4 separate regions of the Homo sapiens genome follow, and all the other regions are linked to region 2. Evidence: promoter capture Hi-C in 16 types of primary human blood cells and fetal thymus (Javierre and others, 2016). All regions are on one chromosome and are shown on one strand. The core of a region is centred on a gene start or on the middle of the fragment in contact, and the rest is flanking DNA. Distances in the headings are between cores, read along the strand shown. Region 1 holds the start of RIC1 (RIC1 partner of RAB6A GEF complex). Region 2 holds the start of SMARCA2 (SWI/SNF related BAF chromatin remodeling complex subunit ATPase 2). Region 3 holds the start of BRD10 (bromodomain containing 10). Region 4 overlaps UHRF2 (ubiquitin like with PHD and ring finger domains 2).

What was found. Contacts are between HindIII fragments. The CHiCAGO score rates a contact against its expected background, and 5 or more counts as called.
Region 1: the fragment with the promoter of RIC1 here is called in contact with the fragment with the promoter of SMARCA2 in region 2 in 1 of 17 cell types (fetal thymus); the score reaches 5.0 in fetal thymus.
Region 3: the fragment with the promoter of BRD10 here is called in contact with the fragment with the promoter of SMARCA2 in region 2 in 1 of 17 cell types (neutrophils); the score reaches 8.4 in neutrophils.
Region 4: a contact is called between a fragment that was not itself captured here and the fragment with the promoter of SMARCA2 in region 2, in 1 of 17 cell types (non-activated CD4 T cells). The highest score is 6.7, in non-activated CD4 T cells.

The regions. Positions count from the first base shown.
Region 1 is chr9:5,626,758-5,632,605 of GRCh38, forward strand. RIC1 (RIC1 partner of RAB6A GEF complex) reads left to right here and starts at 2,350. Exons shown (of 26, transcript NM_020829.4): 1 at 2,350-2,696. The coding sequence starts at 2,553. INCR1 (interferon stimulated noncoding RNA 1) reads right to left here and starts at 2,970. Exons shown (of 3, transcript XR_007061406.1): 1 at 2,810-2,970. RefSeq lists enhancers at 540-759, 2,670-3,170 and a silencer at 2,110-2,649. The HindIII fragment of the contact is 4,913 bases long and covers 332-5,244 here.
Region 2 is chr9:2,010,928-2,017,058 of GRCh38, forward strand. It overlaps SMARCA2 (SWI/SNF related BAF chromatin remodeling complex subunit ATPase 2), which reads left to right and starts at 4,420. Exons shown (of 34, transcript NM_003070.5): 1 at 4,420-4,477. RefSeq lists enhancers at 1,580-1,709, 3,920-3,969, 4,030-4,079, 4,866-5,422 and silencers at 4,130-4,469, 5,610-5,779, 6,080-6,131. The HindIII fragment of the contact is 4,329 bases long and covers 3,604-6,131 here.
Region 3 is chr9:6,004,634-6,010,536 of GRCh38, forward strand. It overlaps BRD10 (bromodomain containing 10), which reads right to left and starts at 3,849. Exons shown (of 8, transcript NM_001017969.3): 1 at 2,562-3,849. The coding sequence starts at 3,154. MIR4665 (microRNA 4665) reads left to right here and starts at 3,193; the gene lies at 3,193-3,271. RefSeq lists silencers at 2,317-2,376, 2,767-2,926, 3,117-3,346, 3,397-3,916 and enhancers at 2,517-2,746, 2,878-3,379, 3,380-3,879. The HindIII fragment of the contact is 10,771 bases long and covers 1-5,903 here.
Region 4 is chr9:6,414,188-6,420,059 of GRCh38, forward strand. All of the region lies in intron 1 of UHRF2 (ubiquitin like with PHD and ring finger domains 2), which reads left to right. Among named protein-coding and RNA genes, the nearest start is that of UHRF2, 3.9 kb to the left of the region's middle. The HindIII fragment of the contact is 2,637 bases long and covers 742-3,378 here.

The DNA.
Region 1 (5,848 bases), core at 1,100-3,599, 3.6 Mb after region 2:
AATTGCTTGAACCCAGGAGGTGGAGGCTGCAGTGAGCTGAGATGGCACCATTGCACGCCAGCCTGGGCAACAAGAGCGAAACTCCACCTCAAAAAAAAAAAAAAAGAAAGAAATCACACTGGATCTGTAGAAAGAACATCAGTTCTTTTCAGGCCATGTGAATTCAGGCACATCTACCACACCTGTCCTGTTTCCTCACTTGAGAAAGTGAGAATAACAACATCACACCAATGTCACTCACCTTGAATGTTTACTATGAATTAAATCAAGACAAGCATTTGGAATTATTTTGTGAATCTTAAGTGCTACACAGGAGTGTGGCAGAGGAATAAGCTTCTAAAGTCAGCAAGTAAGGTTAAAATTGAGTGCAATAAAAATTGCTTAGAAGTTCCTTAAATTGCCCATGAGCACAGTATGACAAACTTGAGACACATGAGAACAAAGACTCTCTGAGAGACAGCTGGGACAAACATTCAGTAACACTGCCAGCAAAATTGCTGCACTAGAACATTTTCATTTCCTCTTTCTGCCAAGTGCATAACTGAATCTAAGATGAAAGTATGATGCAACTTTGTTATTCTACAATTTGAAATTGGCAAGTTAAGAAACCTCTCTGGGCCTCTTTGTCTAATGGTGTAGCTCAGCTGGATCAGGGTTTCCTCCACGGTTTGTCTGACAAATACTGCCAGCTTACTATGCTTACTATGTTCCAGGCTGCTGTGTTGGACTGGGGGAGGGTAGACGCCAAGGAGACAATCTGATCGCAACAGGCTGGTGAGTGGTGAGGCAGTTTCAACCTCCATTTGAGGAATACAGGATTCTATCATCACCTTCCAGGGAATGCAGTGAATGTTTAGAAAAATTACAGAAAGTTACATATTTGGTTATGAATACCAGCTACAATGCTATATCTAATATGAATTAAGTTTCTTTGTTTCCTTTTTTCTGTTTATGTTGCTACTTTTTTTTTTTTTTTTGAGACAGTCTCACTCTGTTGCCCAGGCTGGAGTGCAGTGGAGGGATCTTGGTTTGCTGCAACTTCCGCCTCCCAGGTTCAAGCGATTCTCCTGCCTTAGCCTCCTGAGGAACTGGGATTACAGGCACCTGCCACCACGCCCAGCTAATTTTTGTATTTTCAGTAAGACGGGGGTTTCACGATGTTGGCCAGGCTGGTCTCGAACTGCTTACCTAAAGTGATCTGCCCGCCTCGGCCTCCCAAAATGCTGGGATTACAGGCGTGAGCCCCAGCACCCCGCCTACGTTGCTACTTTTTAATGTGGGGTCATTTTTTAAACCTGGCTTTTTAATTGAAAAAGTAATACAAACATATGGAAAAATTCAAACTGTACTAAAAAAGGTAGACAATGAGAAGCAAATCTTTCTTCTATTTCAGACTCCTCCTTCCCCCATTCCACACCATATCCCCTCAACCCTCCTTCTATTCAGACGTTACCACTGGGTCAATCCGTTGAAAGTTACAGCTAAGGTGATACCTGGGGTCCAAAAGCTAAATATGGACCTACGCTATCACCAGTCCCTTCCAGTTCTAAAACTAAGTCCAAGCCTTTTGCAGCACGAAAGAGATAGCCTCCTCTCATCTAAAGTTATGGCTGGTAAGGCTGAGACGAATGGAAATGGATTTCAAAGACATAGATTTAGAACTCCTGAAAGGCAGGAGACAGAACTCAATACTTTCATGGTGAGTGGTTTATTTACTGATTAAATAAACGCTCCCTTAGGGATGTAAGCTCCACACCGGCAGGAGCTTCATCACCAGCTCTCACTGCAGACCCCGGCATTAAAGGAGCTCACACGGTAAAAGCCCCTACCGCCCACCACAGCCACAGCGGCCGGCAGCCCAAAGTGGGAAACCGCGCCGGCCGTCACGTGACTCCAGCTCCCCCCGGCAACCGGCCCGCCCCCACCGAGACCCCGCCAATCCGGAAGGGAGGTCCAATTTGGCCAGGCCAGGGCGTGTTCCACCGGCCCAGTAGCCTTGCTGCTGCGTTATCCCTAGACTCGCCCCACTTGCCTCGGAGTCTCAGGCCGTTGCCTAGGTCCTCCCGGTAAAACCCTGGAGACTGCTAGGGAGAGGAGCAAGGGAGGGGCCAGCGCGCAGAAGTGCGGACGCAACCCGGCGGCCGCGGGCGAGGCTTATGCAGAGCTTCAAGAAACAGCTAGGGAGACCGCAGGAGTCTCCAGAGCGCGCGCGCGGGCCCTCCCCGGCCCGACCCACGCGGCGCGGCGTGGTGACGCCCGCGCGGCCTGAGGAAGGGGCGGGGTCGGGGCGGGCCTCCGCGCTCCTCCCGCCCTCTCTGTGTCCCTACTCTCCCTCCCCTTCCCTCCCCCACACTCGGCCCCGTCAGCTTGGGGGTGCCTTCGTCGCGCAGCCTTGCGTCGGCCCGGCCCGGCCAGGCCAGCGGGCAGATGCCCCGAGCTGCCGCCGCCGCCGCCGCCGACTCGGCCGGTGGCGGTGTGGGAGGTGGGCGACCAGCCCGGGGCCGCTGAGTGTGACGGACGCAACTGGGGGCGCCGGGGGCTCCGCACGGACCATGTATTTTCTGAGCGGCTGGCCCAAGAGGCTGCTGTGCCCTCTGGGGAGCCCGGCCGAGGCGCCTTTCCACGTTCAGTCCGACCCGCAGAGGGCTTTCTTCGCCGTGCTGGCCGCGGCCCGCCTCAGCATCTGGTACAGCCGAGTAAGTAGAGCCGCCCGCCGCCTTTCGCCGCTGCCTCCCCGGCCTCCCGGCGCCGTCCCACCCCCAACTTCCACCCAGAGCCTAGGACTCCTGCCCCTTCGTGCCAGACCCACCTGCCTTCGCAGTCCGCGTCCTCGTTCCACCGAATTGGCCGCAGGTACCCGCCGGCTGCAGGCACGTCCTCCAGCCGGCGGTCCGGGGTGGATGAAGTCGCTGCTGCCGAAAATCCCTGAGCCTCCCCGCGTTGGACCGACGGCCGCGGCGTGCAGACTCCGCACGCTCCCCGGCCGAGCCCAGACTTGTTCTTCTCTCCCTTCCCCCATTCCCCGAGGGACAAATTTGTTTAAACTTTCCACAATTAGAAATCCGGCCGCTGTGGTGCCCCAACCCTCCCTTACTTTAAAGGTCGCCGTTTTGGAGTTAGGGAAAGCCTCTTGGGCTTTACCCAGCGCCAGACTTTACAGGCCTGTAATAACTTATTTCTACAAACTACAGCCTGAATTCTTTATTCTTCACTAAAGGTCTGGTTATTTAACTCCCCTCTTTAACCCCAACATCCCTTCCCCACTTTCGAGTTGGTCTTTTTCTTTGCTGCTGCTCTTGGACTCTTCGGAATAGGGGGTTAAAGGAGCGGAAGTAGAACTCAAATCTGTCCGCGGAACTCCCAGTTATAACACCTGGAAATAATAAGGCTTGGGAGGAGCATGGAACTGAATTCTGTTTTTGCTTTAAGTCCTGGTTATCTTTTTCTTTCTTGTATTGAATTACTGAGTAGATATGAGAAAGAAATAAGTGGTGGATGGGATACTCCCTACTCTCTGCAAACACTGCTATAACTTTGTCTATGAGAACGACAGAGTTCAGAGTATAAAAATGCTTTTTTTCCTCCCCAAAGAAGGCAGTACCAATCGATGTCAGAGTGAAGTTTTTCTCCTTTCCAAGTTAATTTGACCATGTGGGGATAGGTTGTGATCTTGTCCTTATTAGGTGTTCGTGAAATACTGGTTTTAGTTTGTTAAAATCCCCAAATCTTTGTGTGTTGCTGTTCCATTACCTGTAATGCCCTTGACAGTCCTCACCCACTTCCCTGGTAATACTGGTGATGGGATTTAGTGACGGGTAATTCTGGTGTCTCCTTTGACTGTCATAGTTGGGCTGTAAATCAGACTATTTGCCATCAAGTTTTGGCTGATCTAATTTTCAAATGCAAATCAGAACAAAACAAACTTATAAAATCGTAATACCAACAATATGACTATTTTGTCTAGTGCCTGATTGTATTTTGAATATATATGTATGTATGTGTGTGTGTATATATATAAACATATGTGTAAATATATATAAAGTATCATCTGGTTCCTAAATGAGATATTCGTTTACAATGTATATGCCAGTTGAATAATTTTTAATTTGTTTAGGTGTATATAACTCAACTTTAAAGCACATGCAGAAAAAAATAGAACTTGAATTTAAATTGTCTTTTGAATTTAATACATAATTCCTTTTGAATGTAACAAATTTAGACTTTCGTCTAAAATTTAACTTTTCTTACCTTTAAAAAGGCAGACCTAACTTAATTTTAAATAAAAGTAAACAATATGACCTATGAATTGACCAGAAGCCTGTAAACCACTTTATTCCCCCATAAGAGAAGCATAAACATATGCTTTAATTTAGGGACATTGTGAATATTCTTAAGCATGTCTATTGTTTGGTTTTGGAGTTACATACGACATCTAGAAATCCAAGGCAGTTCTGGAATTTAAACTATTCATACTCTTCTTTCAAATTCCCACCTCACATGCAACTTCCTTTTTCCACAGAAGTCCAGGGACCCCTACTATTAAGTTCTGTTGTGCAAAAGTTAGGCTGTAGGGAACCCATGGGTTTAGAGGTCTGGAGTGAAATGAAATGCAGGAATACCTTAGAGGAGGCTGTATAGTACTGTAGTATGAGTGGTTAACCTTGGTCTCTGGGCACCAGCTTTGTTGTCACTGAAAAAAATCAGATATTCACGAGGTCAAGAGATCGAGACCATCCTGGCCAACATGGTGAAATCCCGTCTCTACTAAAAATACAAAAAAATAGCTGGGCGTGGTGGTGCACGCCTATAGCCCCAGCTACTCGGGAGGCTGAGGCAGGAGAATCGCTTGAACCCAAGAGGCAGAGGTTGCAGTGAGCCAAGATCCCACCACTGCACTCCAGCCTGGCGACAGAGCAAGACTCTGTCTCAAAAAAAAAAAAAAAAAAAAATCAAATATTGAACCAAGTGATTATAAGGTGTATGATTACATGCCTAGGTGAGTGGGATACATATGCTAGACTCCAGCTTCCAATCTTCTCTTCCTGGGATATGCCCTTTCTTACTCTGTATGAAAGTTTTCATTTTGATTTTCTAATTTGTAAACTTCCTGAAAGTATGTAAGTTAATTAGGTTAACAAACTTCATTTAAAAGTGAAAATGCCTTTAGGTAAATTAAAGGGCTATCAGTTATACTTCCATAATTTAGAGTGAATTGGTTTAAAAAGTTCTCATGGAGCTGCTAAAAGCTTTGATTTTTGAGAGGCTGTAGATACAAGTAGTTTTATAATAATATGTGAAGATCTACAGGATTTTACAGAGTTGAAGTCTTACAGCTGCTTGAGGGCATTTGAAGGCAGGGAGACATGCTCGTAGAGATGATAAAACAAGATTTGCTTACCTGAAATTTTGTTAGGGCTCACTTAGTAAATCAGGCTCTCTTAGGAGTGATATATTTTAAAAAGAGACAACTAGCCTTGTGGAAGGGACAGTCGTTTAGTAGTCTAAGCTGGTTGTTTCAATGTTCAAAAGAATTGTGGAAATTGTATGTGTACAGTGATAATTCATAAGACTGAATCTCTATTAAAATCTCTAACTGTACATTATATGGGTCTTCTAATGAACTTTTATGTACTACTTATACCTACTGTCCTCTATTCTAAGTAGGTATTCGGAATTCCACTGTTTAGACTCATATCTCTTCAGAATTATTTCCTACCCCAAATTTGAGAAATACAGTATAGTGTTGTTTATGAACAAAAGAGCCTCTAGATAGTTACTTAGCTTTTTTATATTGGAGCCCCAATATTATATTTTGGAGCCCCCCAAATGGTGTTAAAAAAAGGCTCAG
Region 2 (6,131 bases), core at 3,170-5,669:
AACCTCTTGTCGGTGCTCTTTCTATGACTACAAGAGCTGTAGCTTCTCCTCATCTTCCCACATCCCCCCTCCCCAAAACAAAACAAAACAAAACCAAACAAAAACCAAACACATTTTCCAAGCGTTTTCAAGCCTTGGCAGATACTGTAAAGATTCGGAACACTTACTGATGTTGTTCATTAACATGATAATTACTAATAGTGAAGACCGGCTAAATTTTCTATGTCAGGTAATTTTATTATCTATCTCTCATCCTTTCCTTCAACAAAGTTTTTTTTTCTTTTCTTTTTTTAAATACAATGTGCTAGGTATCAGGGTAATTGCTGAGGTTTCAAAGATGAATCGAAACACCCTCCAGGCACTAACCATCTAGAGGACAACACCAAACAAATAATTGCATCAAAGTGATAAGTGCTATAATGGAGGCGCACACCGGTTGCTATGGGAGCAGAGTAGGACAAGCAGCTTCCTCTGCCTGGGGAGAACAGGGAAGACCACTAGAAGGATTCTGGGTCATAGTTGAGTTTTGAGGATGTGGGTTGAGGATCTGCACTTCAGTCAGAGGGGAGAATGTCCAATGTGGTCACTTAGGAACCAAACGGTAGACAGGTTTTCCCTGAGCCCAGGCATTTTTGGCGGCAGGGTCAACAACGCTGGTAGAGACCTGTCTATGCACAGCCTAGGATAACATGCCAAGAAGTTTGAAACTTACCGTAAAATGGATTGGGAATAGACAAAGGATTTTAAGCTAAAGAACGATATAATCATAAAGAGAATTGGGGGTGGTATTTTGGGGGAATGATTGTGAAAAACATAATTTATTGAACATGCCCATTAGAAAAAAAAGAGAGAGCGGGGTGTGGTGACTCACCCCTGTAATCCTAGCACTTTGGGAGGCAGAGGCGGGTGGATCACTTGAGTTCAGGAGTTCCAGATCAGCCTGGCCAACATGGTGAAACCCTGTCTCTACAAAAAATACAAAAATTAGCTGGATATGGTGGCGGGCACCTGTAATCCCAGCTAATCGAGAAGCTGAGGTTCGAGAATCCCTTGAACCTGGGAGGCGGCGGTTGCAGTGAGCCAAGATCCCGCCACTGCACTCCAGCCTGGGCAATAGAGCGAGACTCTGACTCAAAAAGGAAAAAAAGAAAAAAGGAGAGAGAGGAGTGTTTATTTCTGTAATAAATTTACTTGTTAATTCTAAACTATTCTTTAAATTAAATGTCAGCTGATTCAATTTGTCAAATCTTGGTTTCCATTACTGAAGATGAAATACTCACTGCCTAAACGGTCTTACCTGCTCGTGTTTGAAGCTAGGCAACATTTCAGGCAGCATTAACAGTTTGTCTGTTGGGACTAGAAGCTTCCTAACGTTGTGCATGGAATTTTTCTTTATGAGGGTGTTGTATCCAGATACCAAGTTTTAAACCCAGTATCTACTCTATACAGAATGTAACCAAAGCAGACTTACATAACAAGTGAATGTGGCCATACAGACATGAAAAAGTGACTTCTATCTTTTGATACCAAACTAGAAAGAGAAAAGCAAGTTCAGAGAACACATTATGACTCATCAAAGTCCAAAAAGAAAAGCTGCGTGTGAACGTAGCACCCTGTGCAGCCTCCTGGAGTCCTTTTACCCTCCAACCACATTTGCTTTTGTATGATTTTCTGCAAAACAAAACAAAAAAAACCCATCATTTTCCTCCTTAACTTCAATTGTTAAATTTCGTTTTACCTCAGAGGTGAAACTCATGCTATATGTTCTACAATCTTCTTTTTGTACCAAGTGAATGACGCTGCCTTTTCATTTCTCCTGTGTTGAGGCCTTATTTTATAAAATTCGTAACTGCTAGGGTACAAACTACAAACAAGACGAATTTTTAGAGGAACAACTTGAAGGGTGATGGGGGAAGGTGGTGCTTTCTTAGACCAATGCGAAGGGAGAGGGAGATGCAATATCTATATTTAATCTCTGTTCCCAACGATGTATTTTAATTCCCATAGCTGTGTGTATACAATGCGTGGATACCAACGCCTCCAAGGACAACATCAAAATTTTATATGAGCTGAAGAATATACACATATAACAAAGGGAATGTTTTCTTCTTTACTTTCCCTGTGACAAAATGCCAGAAGGAATGGACAGTTTCTTTCTCCAGGGACTTACTAATTGATTTGTTTTTGTTTTTGTTTTTTTGAGGATTTGCATGGCAAGTGGAAGTAGAATCTTAAGGGGATAAAGGGCATTTATTCACAAGGGAATAAAAGTGAAGTTATCAATTTCTGAAAATTGGCATGTGAGGCCGGCATGCCAGAGAAACAAATTAGACCCCAAAAAAATTAAAACCTAATACTCTCAATGTAATAAGCATTGCTATTAGGTTAAATCTCTTTATTAGAGACAGGTAGGTTATCTGGCTATATTATTAGTTGCGACTTATTAGGCAGTTAGAAGTTAGTATTTATGTTACACTTTTACTATACTACTAGTCTTGTTTAAAATTTCTCCCTATATATTTCTCAGTTAATAGTTATACCGGCATATCCTCAGGCAGAAAAACAAGTTCTTACAATGGATCCTTCAGGGCACACTATATTCTATTTCTCTTAGCTGTGTTATCTTTCGTTGTCTTGAGGTTCACTTCAAGATAGACAGAAAATGATGAAGCTAAAGTTAACAAGCAAGTAGCAAGACCTTAGAAAGCTATAGGGTGGGTGATCACCAACACTCCCAGCCATCATGAAAATGCTGCCCTAGTGGGCTCTGCTTCAGCCAGCAGTGGACCAGTGATATAAAGAATTCTTGCTTCTTAATGACTACATGGCAGTATTTGGCGTTCTTTCCATTACTTCTTGTCTTCAACTTATCCAGCCTGAAGTTTTAAGCATCCTAGAACTGCATTTCAGACCCAGTTGCTCAAATGGAGTCAATTTTGCAACAGTAAAATGGTCTTAAAATAGGATTTTACTCTAGGGGGAAGAATCCTCAACCAGATAGTCACAGTGCACTTTGAATGACTAATTTAAGCCATTACATTACGAAATAAGGGATAAATCATACTTTTCATAACACTACTGCATAGGAACAGTTTTAAGAGTCAAGCATCTACATTAATCTGAGTCTAAAATAATAGGCCCCTGATTTAAAGTCTCCTAACATTCTTTCACACTTCATAAAACTAAAAATAAAATTGTCTCACCAAACACCGACCTATTGGTCCGGCCAAAGTACTGTATTTCAAGGAAAATTGGAGCAAAGAGGTCTCAAAACCGCGACTTGCCAGCAAATTACAATTTGCAGCCTTAATTGGTCTCAAATGCGGGGTGAGAGGGAAGAGACTACGGTCTGTAGAAAATAAGAGATTTATTCCCCTTTTTAAATCAAAACCAGATTCCATGCTTCAGCCGCCCCCTAACCCGCCAGCCCCGCCCCCAGGGTTTGTTTTTCCATATTTTTGTATATATTTTAGCGAAGATGGCAGGTGAGGGAAGGTTATAGTGCTGTACCTAGTCCACGAAGTAAACAGAGAGGTTAGGGTGGGTTTACTTATTTATAAGGCGTTCAGCCTCTCAGCTGTTTCTCCCTCGTTGGCATTTGGAAGCTTGCAGTCCTTCAGGGAAGAGACAGATTTGGCAGGAACGTTCTTTGTGCCCGCCTCCCTTTTCTATTTTTTATTTTTTTACCTGGAATAGGGGGCAGATTTATAATGACAGCCTTAGGGAAGGGGGAGAAAAAGTTTCAGCCGGCACGACAATGCCCGTTTTTTCCACAGTCCACACTGTGCCACAAACAGCTTTGGTGCCACTCGGAGCCCGTCCCCCGTCCCCTCCCTCTCTCTCTGCAGGCTCGCACTGGCAGGCGGAGGCACAGTTAAATTCCAGCACCTTCTCCACATACCCCCGAACTACTACGCGCTATTACTACGGCTGCCCTCCGTTTTCGCTTCGCCTCCTCCCCTTCCGCAGTCTCCCTGGAGGAGCCCCGCGGCGCCCGAGGAAGAGGACTGCCAGGGAAGGGACAGCGGGCGCCCAGCTCCAGCAGGGCTTGGGGCTTTCTGCATCCCGCGCAGTTTCTCTGCTCCAGGCACAAACGCGGCCCGAGAGCCGGCGCCTTGCAGTCACACACGGATCCACGCATACAGTAGAGCTGTCTAGATCCACATTCTTGCACACCGCCCCCTCCTCCCCCCGCGCTCCCGGAGTCGCTGAGCTGAGCGAGTGACAGGCGCGTCCCGCCAACCCGCGCCCGGACGGGCAGGGAGGAGCGGCGCGCGGGGCCAACTGCGGCGCGTCTTCCGGCGCCCGCGGAGGAGGCGAGGGTGGGACGCTGGGCGGAGCCCGAGTTTAGGAAGAGGAGGGGACGGCTGTCATCAATGAAGTCATATTCATAATCTAGTCCTCTCTCCCTCTGTTTCTGTACTCTGGGTGACTCAGAGAGGGAAGAGATTCAGCCAGCACACTCCTCGCGAGCAAGGTAAATATAACTTACAACTCTTTTCTCCTCTTTCCCCTCCCTTCGGCCGCCCCGCTGCAGCCGCCGCTCAGACCCCTCCGGCACCACGCCGCCTTCGCCCGGGATTATCCATTATTATCCTAATTATTATTTATTGTGCATGCAAGGAGACCAAAACAAACAGGCGGGCCAACCGCCGCGACAAAAAAAAGCCCGCCTCCTCCCCGCGGGCCTCAGGTGGAATGCTCTAACGACAGCTCCCAGGCGGCGGTGGAAGAAACGAGAAAGTTTCAACCGAACCTTGCTGTTCTAATAATAACAGTAATAATTACTACTTCAAGGGGGCAAAGGAGGAAAAAAATCCCAACAAGCCACAGCCTTGATCCTGAGTGGGCAGTCAGAGGCGCTGCCAACTCAAGGTTGCAACACACACATTGGGCCAGGTTGCAATCCCCCCATCCCCTTAAAAGTGAGGCGGCGGGGAGGGGGGTGGCCGCAGGAGGGGGAAGGCCTGGGGGACAGGGGAGGAGGATGGAAACGCTACTGTTCATCCCGGGCAACCCTCCCCGGAAGAGTTGGAAGGGGAACGGGAAAGGAGGGCGGGGAGCCCAGGCTGGCGGCGGGGCGCCAACGGACGCTGTTGCCACCCGCTTCCCAGGGACTTGTTCAAAGGGCTCCGGCTGCGGAGACGTGAGCGGATCGCAGCGGGAGAAGCCTGAGCTGACGCGCGAAGGAGGTAGCGGCCACTGCCGCGGGGCCGGTGCGTGCCTGATCGGAGGTGTCACCTCCACTTTCCGCGTTTCCTCCGGCGTGGATGGGGAGGCTGATTGGTAGGCAGGCCTTTAGGCAAAGGGGCTGCCAGGGGGCTGCGCCCCGGGCGCTGCGGACGTCCCTGCCTCTGGTACCTGGCGGCAGCGCAGGCTCGGGTGTTAAAGTTCGGGATGTCCGGCCCGGGCCGCACTGCTGGAGGGAAGGGAGGAGGCCCCCAAGGAGGTCGGAGGTGCCCGCCAGCCTCCGTTACCCTGCCCTCCCTCTCCCCGGGTCCGTGTTCTTTTGCTTCGCGTCTTCCCCTTGCTTGCGCCGCGGGAGCTGCGGGCGTGGGGCGCCTGCGATCGTCCGGGTGCTAGGGGCGCGCCGGGACCCAGGAGAGCCACGGCGGCGGCTGCGGGCCCGGGAGGCCATGATCCGGATAATCCTGTCTGCCTGACTGTCACAAACAGGACCCGCGCACCACCGGGCAGCGGCGGTGTGGTTCGCCCGGGAAGGGGAAGGGCTGCGGTGGGGAGGGAATAGGGGGGTGGCGAGGGCGGGAGGCGGGGAGACCGGGTAGGAGCCTCCTCCCAACGATGACACGCACTCCTTCCTTCTCGCTCCCTGCTCAGGAGTTTGCTTTATTCCCATCCCAACCTGGTTTACCCCTTCCTTTGCTCTCCCCCTCCACCCGGCCGTCTTCCCTTCCTCCCGTTTGCGTTGCAAAACACGGCCATGCCATCTGCAAAGGTGTCGCGATGCACTTCCCTAAATAACCGGTCCGGCGCGCCAGCCCCTCGGCGCCCTCCGGCCGCAGGGCGCACACGGAGCACAGTGCTCCCGGTGCCCCGCACCAGGCCTCGCAGCCTGGGTGCAGTTACACGGCGGAGGGCGGGGCGCGGCAGTGCGGGCTCCGGCGGACACC
Region 3 (5,903 bases), core at 2,599-5,098, 4.0 Mb after region 2:
ATAATATCTAAGTGATTCATTGGTTTCATTTCTAAAATACCATATACCACTTTGAGATATTTACAAATAAGCTATGAGTCATCTATATGCTGAAAATCACACTCCCATGAACACTCTATAGAATATTGTTTTGAAACATCTATATACCTTAGTTGCATTTCAAACAGTTGTGACCTATGCTTTTCTCAAAGTTGTGCCCATTGGAAGCAGTTAGTAATGACTCAGATTTTAGGCTAGAAGAACTGATGTCCTAGTATCCACAAGTGTGGTCTCGCAAACCTGATGTGTTTGCATACATCAAATACAAAAAAGCGAGGGACTCCAACTTTAATTAACTATTTGAGGTCATACTACTTTTTGCTACTAAAATAGCAAGAATTTTACCTCTACTGGCCTAAGAATGTCAGAAATACATTATTTTTATAAACTACAATGTTGTAAGTTTAATTTCTAAATATGGATACTATTAGATCACATGGGAATATAAGTATTCTGAGCATTAACGACTGAGAATGATGATTCTAAGCATTTAGAAATTTACCTTTATGTAGTTTCTTAGTCTGCTCTTTTTTAAGACTAAGAAATGTTTATTATAGGCCGGGCGCGGTGGCTAGGGCCTGTAATCCCAGCACTTTGGGAGGCCGAGGCGGGCGGATCACCTGAGGTCAGGAGCTTGAGACCAGCCTGGCCAACATGGCGAAACCCCATCTCTACCAAAAATACGAAGATTAGCCGGGCGCGGTGACAACTAACCCCAGCTACTCGGGACGCTGAGGCACGAGTATCGCTTGAACCCGGGAGGCGGAGGTTGCAGTGAGCTGAGATCACGCCACTGGACTCCAGCCTGGGCTACAGAGGGAGACTCAGAGAAAATAAAATAAATAAATAAATGTTTATTACACACAGAGCTTTTGAAAACACCAGTAATTCAAACCCATATGCTATCTCTTAGCACTTTCATTCAGTCATTCTCTTGCCTCATTCTAAATCATTATTCCCACATCTGATAGATTAGATGAACTCTAAGGTTCTTCCAGGTCTAAAATCTTGTGACATCAATCAGGAGGATACTTCATAACTTCAAAATAATAACGTGAATGGATTGTTTTTTATGTGAGTCACAGCAATAATGCACTGTGGAGACAAGGGTAACAAACACACTACAGAAATACAAAATTACTAAAGTATTAAAAGTAATTTACAAAGCAAATATGTGAATAATTATTCTATTACTAAATAATCCTACTCTATGAAAGGATTCAAGAAGAGGTTCCTTAAAGAGAGCTCACTTAACGAAGACAGGCACTATGTTAACTGTTTTTGGTGAAAAAAATCACCGTTAGTCTTGAAAATGGCATATGGGAAGCCAATGACAAAGGTTACTTTTAAATTACAGTGACAAATCAAGAACCAAAAAATTAACACAATTTCTAGGAGCTATTCTGTAAGAGCACAAGTATAATGCCGTTTCAGATATGAAGTATACACTCATATTATTCAACGACTGCTACTACTTACATTAAAATGGCTAACACTTATACTTGGCTAACTATGGGAGCAGCACTGTTGATTTCACATTTATTAACTCATTAAATCCTCAAAGCAACTCTATGAGAGAAGTACTATTATTATCCCCGCTTGATAGATGAGGAAACTGAGGCCAAAAAGGTTAAGTGACTTGCTCAACTTAAATTCACTCTAATAGTAAACAGTCAAACTACTATTCCACTTCAACTACCAATACCAAAAACATTGAATTTTTCCACTCCCGAAAAATTTAAACTTTAGAAATTAACTTGGCTGACACAGACTATACAATTATTATAAAACAATACATTCATTTTAGTATCCTCCTCTTGTGTTAAATAATTGGATATATGGGTGGCGGATACCAAGAGCACAGTATCATCTGACTTGCCTATGATTTCTGGTAGAATAAACATAAATGTATAAACTTTAAAAAATGTGTGTTGATGCATTCCCTATTATTGCAAAAATTGGGTGTCCTCAGATGAAACGGAGAGAAAAGATCAGTAGTATGCAAAAGTAACCATTAACCATTTAGTAACACTCCATAAATCTTCGATGACCGACATGGGTAGTAAATGATAAAATTATTTTTTAATGGTTTAAGACACCTTTTTACATAAGCCAAAATTATTTTTCTAGAGATATTTCATCCTAAACGCTGTTTTAAATGTCATGCTAAAACTGTCTAAAAGTTGCAGGTCCAACTTCCATCCCACAAAAACTGTTCCTCTGCCTACACGTGCAATTCTTCCTACGGGACCCATTCCATTTTACATCTGCAAACTATACCCAGCTCTTCAGCGCTGCAGACTCGGGTTTCCTTCTCAGTCTACGCGCAAGCCGGGTTCGGCCCACACCCACCACACCCCTCCGGTCCCCGCCCAGCGCCGCTCCTCCTCCCGGGCTTCTCCAGCACCGACTCAGCACCTATCAGCGCCGCCCCCAGGCCCCTGGCCCAGCCCATCCTCGGGCACGTGTGAGTGTGTGTTTGTGTCAGTCTGTCAGTCCCACCGGGGACCGGGCTCGCTTACCGAGAGAGAAGCGCTAACTTCTGCTCCAGCATCATCTCCAGCTTCTGGCCCTGTTTGGAGATCCAGTGGTCCACTCCGTGCAGGCGGTAGCACGTCTCCAGCATCAACCTGAAGTCCGCCACGAACTCGGTGATGCCCCCGTACTGGCCGCTGGCGAACTTCTCTTCCATCTGCAGCAGACACATGCCCTGTCCGGGCTGCTGCGGGAAGGCGCGACCGCCCCGGCCCCCGCTGCGCGGCCCTTCCGCCACCTCCTCCTCCGCGGTGGCAACGCCCCCCAAGGGCTGCAGAAAGGGGGCGGTGAGGCCCCGGTGCTTCTCCTGCAGGAACTCGCCCAGGATGCGGTAGCCCTGCTGTAGCTCGTAGGTCAGCTCCTGCTCCTTGCAGCAACCGCCTCCGATCACCATCGCCTCCATCTCTTCCTCCTGATCGTCCGCGTCCTCCAGCGAGGAGGCACTCCTTCCGTGGGCCGGCCCTGAGGTCTGGGCCGCCGCTGCCACCTCCTCCTCGTCGTCCTCTCCTTCGGCCGCCGGTGGCGGCCGCTCTTCCTCCCCAGCCGGCTCCATCGCTCCCGGCGTCCCGGGCACACTCATGCCCCGGCAGGCCTAGGCTGGGCGGTGTGGAACAGCCGCTCGAGGTGCTGGGGGACGCGTGAGCGCGAGCCGCTTCCTCACGGCTCGGCCGCGGCGCGTAGCCCCCGCCACATCGGGCCTGGCTCTCCTCAGCCGCCGGCTCGGCTCGGTGCGCGCGGGGGTCTTGAGCTCACCGCCGGCGGGGCGGGGTTACATGGCGCGCGAGGAGGGGGGAGAGAAGAGGAGAGCCTAGGTGCCCTCCTCTCCCCTCCCCCCCGGCGGCGGCGCGCGCACGGCCCTCGCCGGCCTCACCCCTCCGCACCCCGCCCGCCTGCTCTTCACCGGCCAGGCCCTGCCGGGTCGCCGCGGCCTCGGCGCCCCACCCCCTCCCGGGCCAGCGGGGGGCTGGGAGGGGGCGAGGAGGAAGGGGGTTCTCCTCTCCCCTCCCCGGAGGGGGCCGCAGCGGCGGCTCCGGCTCCTCCTCTCCCTCACACCCCCTCCCGCCCCCCTCTACCTGCGGGGGACACGGGCAGAAGGAGGCGGTGCACGGACGGGGCCCGGCGACAACTGTCAGTTAGAAGCCCCGCTGGGCGGTGAGGGGGGAGAAAGGGGAGGGGCAGGGAGAGAAGGGGGAGGGCACTCAGCCCCCCGGCTGGGAAGAGCTGTGGAGAGAAGCAAAGAAAGAGGCCCTGTCGCCATCCCCGGTGCGCATGCGTAGTAGAACAATTCCCCCCTCCCCCCCCGCCACCATCGTGCCCCGCCCCGCTACGCAAAAGGAAGAGCTTCGGCTCAGCTACAGGCCCAGAAGCCTGCTAGGGTTGCGCGGACCAATGATGTAATCAATCGTAGGCCAATCGAACATGTTGATGGAGGGGGAAGCAAGGCGCCTGCGCAGCTTAATTCGCTACCGCCTGGGAAGGTGGCCAAAAGGCTTTTTTTAAAGCAAGTGCTTCAAGAGGAAACTTCTTTTGCAAGACCCGTGTTAGCCCCCCAAACTAAAATTAAAGTTGCTAGATAACCTTTGTTAATGGCAAATGAATAGTGAGAAAGCGCAAAATGTAAATCTTCTCTACTATAAAATTTACATTCTGTTCCCACCCTTTCTCCCTTGTGACTGCGGGTCTTCTATATATAACCAGAATTTTGAGAAGTTTAGAAAGAAAGTTTAAGGACTCGACCATACGTTCACATGCAGAAGAAAAGGAAGTGATTTTTAGAACCCCAGCTCTTAACATCAATTCATATTTTGGAACTAATTCCATGTTTTCAGTTACAAATTTCCACCCTCCCGATTCTTGAGATCTGTTAAGAATAAAGAGAATGGAACCTCATTTAAACAAATTCTTGGGACTGAAAACAGTCAAAATAGTTCATGTCTGAGTTGTACAGCATTAAACAGTTGTTTGCATGGGCTGATAATCTCACTACATTTTACAATTACTGTTTAATGACTAAAAAGTGGACTCATCATTCACATTGGTTTACATGTTACTTAAAATTAGTTGGGAGGTAGGAATTCATGGTTCCATAAAGCAAATACTACTATTTCCTCATGTTCTATTTGAAAGACGCACATATTATTTTTTCTAGGTACACAGAACCCTCGTTAAAACCTAGAATTACCTAAACACAAAAACAAAATTACAGAAATCATGCATTTTAAAAGTAAAATGTGTATAACTAAATGATTAGGATACTCTGACTCTTGCAATTGTTTACTTCTCATTAATGTGAACTTTAAAGCAGTGATAAAATTTTTTTTTAACCTCAAAGCTGTTTTTGTCCAGTAAGTTAAGTATCACTCTTAAGTAAAATAGTGAAGCGGGAACGCTCTGTTAGGGTATTCACACTGTCCTCCACACATACCTTTTATCTAGTATTCGAGGTCTCCTCTCATCAGACATTTGTAATATATAACGCATTTACAGGGTTCTCTCCCCTCAGAGAAGAGTCTGTGGACTCTGAAGAGTCCACAGAACCTCAGCTCACAGAAAGAAAAATGCAGGGATCAGTCTTACTTCAGCACCTGGCAACCAAAACGTGTGTCTGACTAGACATTCCTCCTTTCTTTCGACAAAGCCCAGGAATCTGAAGCCCAACGTACCCAAGCAAACATCCTCTACTCCTCTTTAGTCATCAGCTCTATTTCATGACTCTTGGACAATATTAGCTTACATTATTGAACCCTGTGCCACTAAGCACTTTATATTCATTGTCTCCTTTAATCTCACAACAAGCCTATCAGCTAGGTATTAACCTTATTTTTCAGATGAGGAAACTGCCTCTTAGTTTAAGAAAGTTGTTAAACAAAGTTAAAATCTAGGTCTGTCATACTTCAAAAACTCCAGGTGCCTAATTCCAAGTCATCTGGCAGAATTTCTAATTCCTCATACATAAAAGTGTAGGGAATTGCTAGAAATGTTGATAAAGGGTTTCTTAATTAAGATTATATAAAAGAGAAAGGTGTGGGTGAGTAGAAGGAACCTCAACTCTAGGTTATGAAGAGGTCAAGATGATAGCAACTTAACTATAATGAAAGTAGGATCGGGTCCTTGATCTTAAAAAAGAAACTCTATTACACAAGAAATATGGGCTGGGCACGGTGGCTGACACCTGTAATCCCTGCACTTTGGGAGGCTGAGGTGGACAGATCACCTGAGGTCAGGAGTTCTAGACCAGCCTGGCTAACATGGTGAAACCCCGTTTCTACTAAGAATACAAAAAATTAGCTGGGAGTGGTGGTGCGCACCTGTAATCCCAGCTACTCGGG
Region 4 (5,872 bases), core at 810-3,309, 4.4 Mb after region 2:
AAGATTCGAAGGGTTTCCAGAACTTCTGGTCCCTCTCCCTCGCCGCCTTTCCTAGGTTTGGAATGTCTCGAGGGAGGTTAGAGACCTGGGCATGAAGAAACTGTCGGTTTAACCGGGGGCCGGGTTTACGAATGCCCTATATAAGCCAAGAGTTTTATTCCCGAAGTGAAAAGGAGTGTAAGACTGTTTGCTTTTCTTACTTCTCGCCTTCTAATACTCATGTCGTTCACGCTTTAAGCATAGCACTGCAGCATAGCCAGCGGTGCATACTTGAAGGCTGTCTGTGGGCATCTCTGGTATTTTTATGGTCTGGCCAGTCTAAGTTTTTTTCCTATTCCACAAGTCTCTTACAATCTATATCCCTAGCCACTCAGACCCATCGTATTTTTCTTTGTCTTCATGTTGTTGTTAATACACTAAAAAGTTGGCATCCTGAGTTGATAGACCACAGTTTGGCTCCAATCCTGTGGTTTTAAATAAGTGTAGCTCTTTGATTTGGTAGAAGTAGCCTACAGTTGCAAACTACTTAAAAGGAATATTTTCCTCCCCTTCACAGGCTTAGTCTTCGAAGACTGTCCAGAAATTTCATAGTAACAAATTACACTTTGGGAAGGAGAGAGCTTTTTTTTCCCCTTTCCTTCTCTCTTTAAAATAATGTTATAGCACCTTTGATTTGTGTTTGCAGCCAGTTTTGTACTGACTTCTTAGTGTTTGACTTGTAAAAACAGGTATTTAGTTGTAAGCTTTGCTTTTGAAATAATTGTACACTTGTTAAATACTACATAGATTTGCTTTGCTGTGCCTCAAGTGGCTGATACCGTTTCCTTTTGATCACAAGTGAAAAAGCATGTAATCGTTTGATGCATTTTATTTTCTAGCTGGGGACAAATAGTACATGAATTCCTAGGACACTGGTGATTTCAGCACCAGAGATAGAAATGAAGGATGTTCTTGGGCAACACTCCTAAAATCTTTATTATCAAATATGCTAAAATAATTATCACATATGGGATTGGGTTAAATTCAAGGCAACAAAGTAGACTTTCAGTAAACTAGGAAGCTCATTCCAGATTCCAGGGAAAACTGAGGATAACCGTTGTACTTCCTCTTCCAGGGTCCTAGTGGGTAATTCACTACTTGGGTTTCTTCAGCCCAGTGATAAACCAGTAGGGTAGAGGAATAGACCTTTGGTGCCAGCCATTAACTTGGAAACAGAAAAGGAAGGTCATTGGTACCAGCTGTGTGTTCACTTTCTTATGCGCTGACAAGTAGCTATGGCAATGAGTGTTATCTTTCGTGGTCTCTGGAGCTCCACAGATGAGGTAGCCAGCCTGTAGCAGGTAACTACTGGAATGGCATCACAGAGAGTCCCCGTCCTGTAAAATACCATGTCCTCATTGGAAAAAGGTACCCCTACTTCAAAATACTTTACTGCCACGTAGTGAAAAATGTCATAAATTGTAGACAATACATTTATTTTTATTTAAGTGGTACCCGCCCCCCATACTCCATTCGTATGTTAGGCTCCAGCTTTTAATCTTTGGTATGTATCAGAATCGCTTGTGGATATTTATTATAGATGTTCAGCTCACCCCAGAACTGCAAGTAGTTGAATTTAACAAGACCCCACGGGAGATTCTGATAACACCAGAGTTTAGAAAATGAATGTTGATAGATAGTCTCCCACTAGTCTCTTACTATTCAAAGTATGGTCCCTGGATTCTCAGGACCAGCAGCATTAGCTTTACCTGAAATCCTCACGCCAGACCTACTGAAGCTGACCTACTGAAGCAGAATCTGTATTTTAACAAGATCTCCAGGTGATCTGTATGTAGGTGAAGTTGGAGAAGGCAGTGTTAATTGACTCCACTTTTTTTGTTGTTGTTTTTGTTTTTTTTTTAAGCCGGAGTCTTGCCCTGTCGCCAGGCTGGAGTGGCGCGATCTCGGCTTACTACAACCTCTGCCTCCCGGGTTCAAGCGATTCCCCTGCCGCAGTCTCCCAAGTAGCTGGGACTACAGGCGTGCGCCACCACTCCCGGCAAATTTTTTGTATTTTAGTAGAGACGAGGTTTCACCATTTTGGACACGATGGTCTCTATCTAGGACAGGACCTCAGGTGATGCGCCCACCTCGGCTTCCCAAAGTGCTGGGATTACAGGCGTAAGCTACCGTGCCCAGCCTTGACTCCACATTTGAGGGTCAAAATGGAGACCTGCAATTCAGGGCTATAAGTTTTGGTTAGAGTAGGATAACATGCTGTGAACATTCTTATCTGGGAAGTTGAGTTTGAGGCACGCGGGGGATTGGGTCTTTTTAAGGAAGAGATTATGTTGGTGGATCTCTAAATCTTTTTTTTTTTTTTTTTTTTTTTTTGAGACGGAGTCTCGTTCTGTCGCCCAGGCGGGAGTGCTGTGGCGCGATCTCCGCTCACTGCAAGCTCCGCCTTCCGGGTTCACGCCATTCTGCCTCAGCCTCCCGAGTAGCTGGGACTACAGGCGCCCGCCACTGCGCCCGGCTGATTTTTTGTATTTTTAGTAGAGACGGGGTTTCACCGTGGTCTCGATCTCCTGACCTCGTGATCCGCCCGCCTCGGCCTCCCAAAGTGCTGGGATTACAGGCGTGAGCCACCGCGCCCGGCCTAAATCTTTTGAGAATCCAGAGCTTTTCCTATTTTAAAGGATTCTCTCTCGTCATTCTTTCACTCCTTACCACTATAGAGGTGGTCTTAAAATAGATAACAATGTGGGGCATGAACTATAGTTGAAGAAAAAAGTTGCCTCTCCCACTTGGTTTTCACACAGAATATAAAAGTACTTGCCTATTTAAAGGAATATCTATGTATATATTATATATGATGTATATAACATATATAATACACACATATATAATATGTGATGGATACGTGAAAGTTGTTTTGCCCTTCACTGGCATCCCTAGTCAGTAGTTGCTTGGGAATGACTTCCCACTGCCCTCTCAGCCACTTCCACTTGGCATTTGCTTTCTAGTATTCCCTTGCATCATTGTTGCAGTTCCTCTTGTTACCTGGAGTTTCTTCTTTCAACTCAGTAAAATTTCAAGAGTGGTCTGACAAAAAATCCTAACCATTTTTGCTTCTTAAGTATTGTAAATACTGCATCTCCATCTTCGAGTATGGCAGTTCTCAAACATTTGCTTTTGAGACATTGATGGACCTAAGTTACATGCTTCTGACTCACAGATGTTTGTGATTTCTAAATGACCGCTTCCTTTTTTCCCTACTTAGAGCTTAATTTGAGTGTCAGAGATAACTTTCAATCTTCACTTTCATTAAATGTGGAAGAACTTCGGTACTTTTCAAGTAAATCATCTCAACACTTCACAGCTCTTCATAATATGTGAAGCTTTGTGGAATAAAGTTGTGTGGAACTTGTTATTGCGGTAGATAAATGGTCACTATTGTAGGAAGACTGGAGGAGTACCTATGAATTAGCGAAGGAGTGGATAATCTGGGTTTAAAAAGCCTGTCATAGCAAGCATGAGGAAAGGTGGTTATATGTTACTGTGGATGTAACTTATAGGGTCTCATGCCGTGATATGCTTAGACATGGTGCTCTTACGACATTTTTTCCTGTCAAATCAAATTTTAAAAAGCACCAGTTGAAACAGTTTGTATTTACTCCTGACCGTCATTTAGTAGAAACTAACCAGGAGCTGACTGTAGAAATACCCTCAACGTCACTCTGACTCTGGTCCCTCAAACCTAAGTGGAAAAATGTTCTTTCAATTTCCAGCAGTTTTATCACTTTAACTGCTATCTTCATTTTTGGAAATATGCTACTAGTTAATTTGCATGTTTTATACTGTTAGTTTTTTTTAATTATCTTTAAGCACTTTCATTTAAAAATAGTCATAATGTTTGTCAGTTGTATGTTACGCTTTTTCAGCTCCTCCAGAATTAGTAAGGTATTTTGTTTTGGGTTTTTTTGTGGGGGTGTTGGAGAATGTCAAAATGATGGTGTGAATGCAGTGTTTGCTCCTTGAGTTTTTTGGGGTTTTTTTCCCTCCACGGGAGTTCAAGACTAGAGGATGTTCCTTTTTTTTTTTTTTTTTTTAAATCAAGGAAGCAATATTCCCATCCCTATCCTTATCAGGGCTTACTTGCTTACTGACTTGGAATACTACTTTGGCTTATTTAGAGTAAGCATGGTAACTTGTGAGGTAGTACATAATTTAATTCCCTGACTGGGAAACTTGTGAAATTCTTGATCCCTTGTTCTACTTGACAAATGTGAATACCTGTAGTGTTTGAGATTGTGCTTGTTGGGTTCTTGGACCACCTGAGTTCAAATTACTGATCTAGTAGATTAAAAGTTTTAAATTCAGGACATACTTTTATTTCCATTTGGTTGACTTCTCAAATATGATGTTACTGTGTTAGAGTTGTGAATGTTGAAAAGTAATACATATGAAGAGTAGAAAATGAGCAATTTAAAAATTGATTATGTTTCTGGGAAAGTGATAGTTGTGGCCTGAAAGGAGTTTAGTTTTCTTGTTTCACTGTATCATAGTGAAATTGCCAACTGAACTTTATAAAGAAACAAAATGGAGACTTAATTTCCTAGGGCTGTTGTACTAATGTACCAAAACCTGGGTGGCTTAAAACAATAGAAATTTACTGTCTCACAGTTCTAGAGGTCTAGCAAGGTGTCAGCAGGGCCGTCCTCTGATAGCTCTAGGGGGAGAACCCTTTACACTTTGCCGGAAATTTTCTTTCTTGGCTTATATTAGGTACATCACTCCAGTCACATGGCTGCCTTTTTCCTGTGTCTTCACATTGTCTTCCGGCTGCATCTTTCCAAATGTCCCCTTATTATGAGGACACTAGCCATATTGGATTAGGGCCCTAATGACTTTGTTTTAACTTAATTACCTCTCTAAAGACCCTATCTCAAAATGAAGTCACATTCTGAGGTACTGGGGGTTAGGACTTTAACAAAAAAATTTTGGCAGGGACGCAACTTAGCTCGTAACAGTAGGTTTTACATTTCTTTTGTTAAATTTATTTTCTGATTACCTCTTTAAAAGACTGTTTCCAAATAAGGTCACATTCTCAAGTACCATGGATTAGGATTTCAACCCATAACCCTTACCAAAATATGGGTGGGTTGCAAATAATTTATTCACTATTCTTCCTGGAAGACTTCTTGATAAAACTTGATAATTGCAGATCGATAGAATTAGAGAACTTCAGGCAAGTGGAGTAACATGAGCAAGAATTAGAATTATCCCTTCTTGTTTTTTTTTCTGCTTGACTTAAAAAATAAAAACCTACTGATAATGCTTTAGAAAGATAACATATTTGACTTAATGTGTTTTTTAAAAAAGTGAAACACTGAGCTGATGACTTAATGTCTTTATGAAAAATAAGGTCATAAAACAACTTTGAAAATTCACATTTCTTGAAGTTGATTCAAGCACTGATTAAACATAAAACTTGAGAAATTAAATCTAGTTTAGAGTTTTTCTGTGTAGGTCATAAGGTCACAGCCACAATGAAACATTTTGGGATTTATTTATTTATTTGTTTATTTTGAGACAGGGTCTCACTCTGTTGCCCAGACTTGAGTGCAATAGCATGATCATGGCTTACTGTAGCCATGACCTCCTGGGCTAAAGTGATCTCCCACCTCAGCCTCCTGAGTAGCTGGGACCACAGGCATGTACAATCACACCCGGCTACGTTTTTTTATTTATTTATTTATTTTTATTTTTTGTAGAGATGGGGTTACCCATACTGGTCTGGAGCTCCTGGGCTCAAGTGATCCTCCCACCTTGACTTCCCAAAATGTTGGGATTACAGATGTGAGGCCCGGAGCCCAGCCTCCCCCGCCAC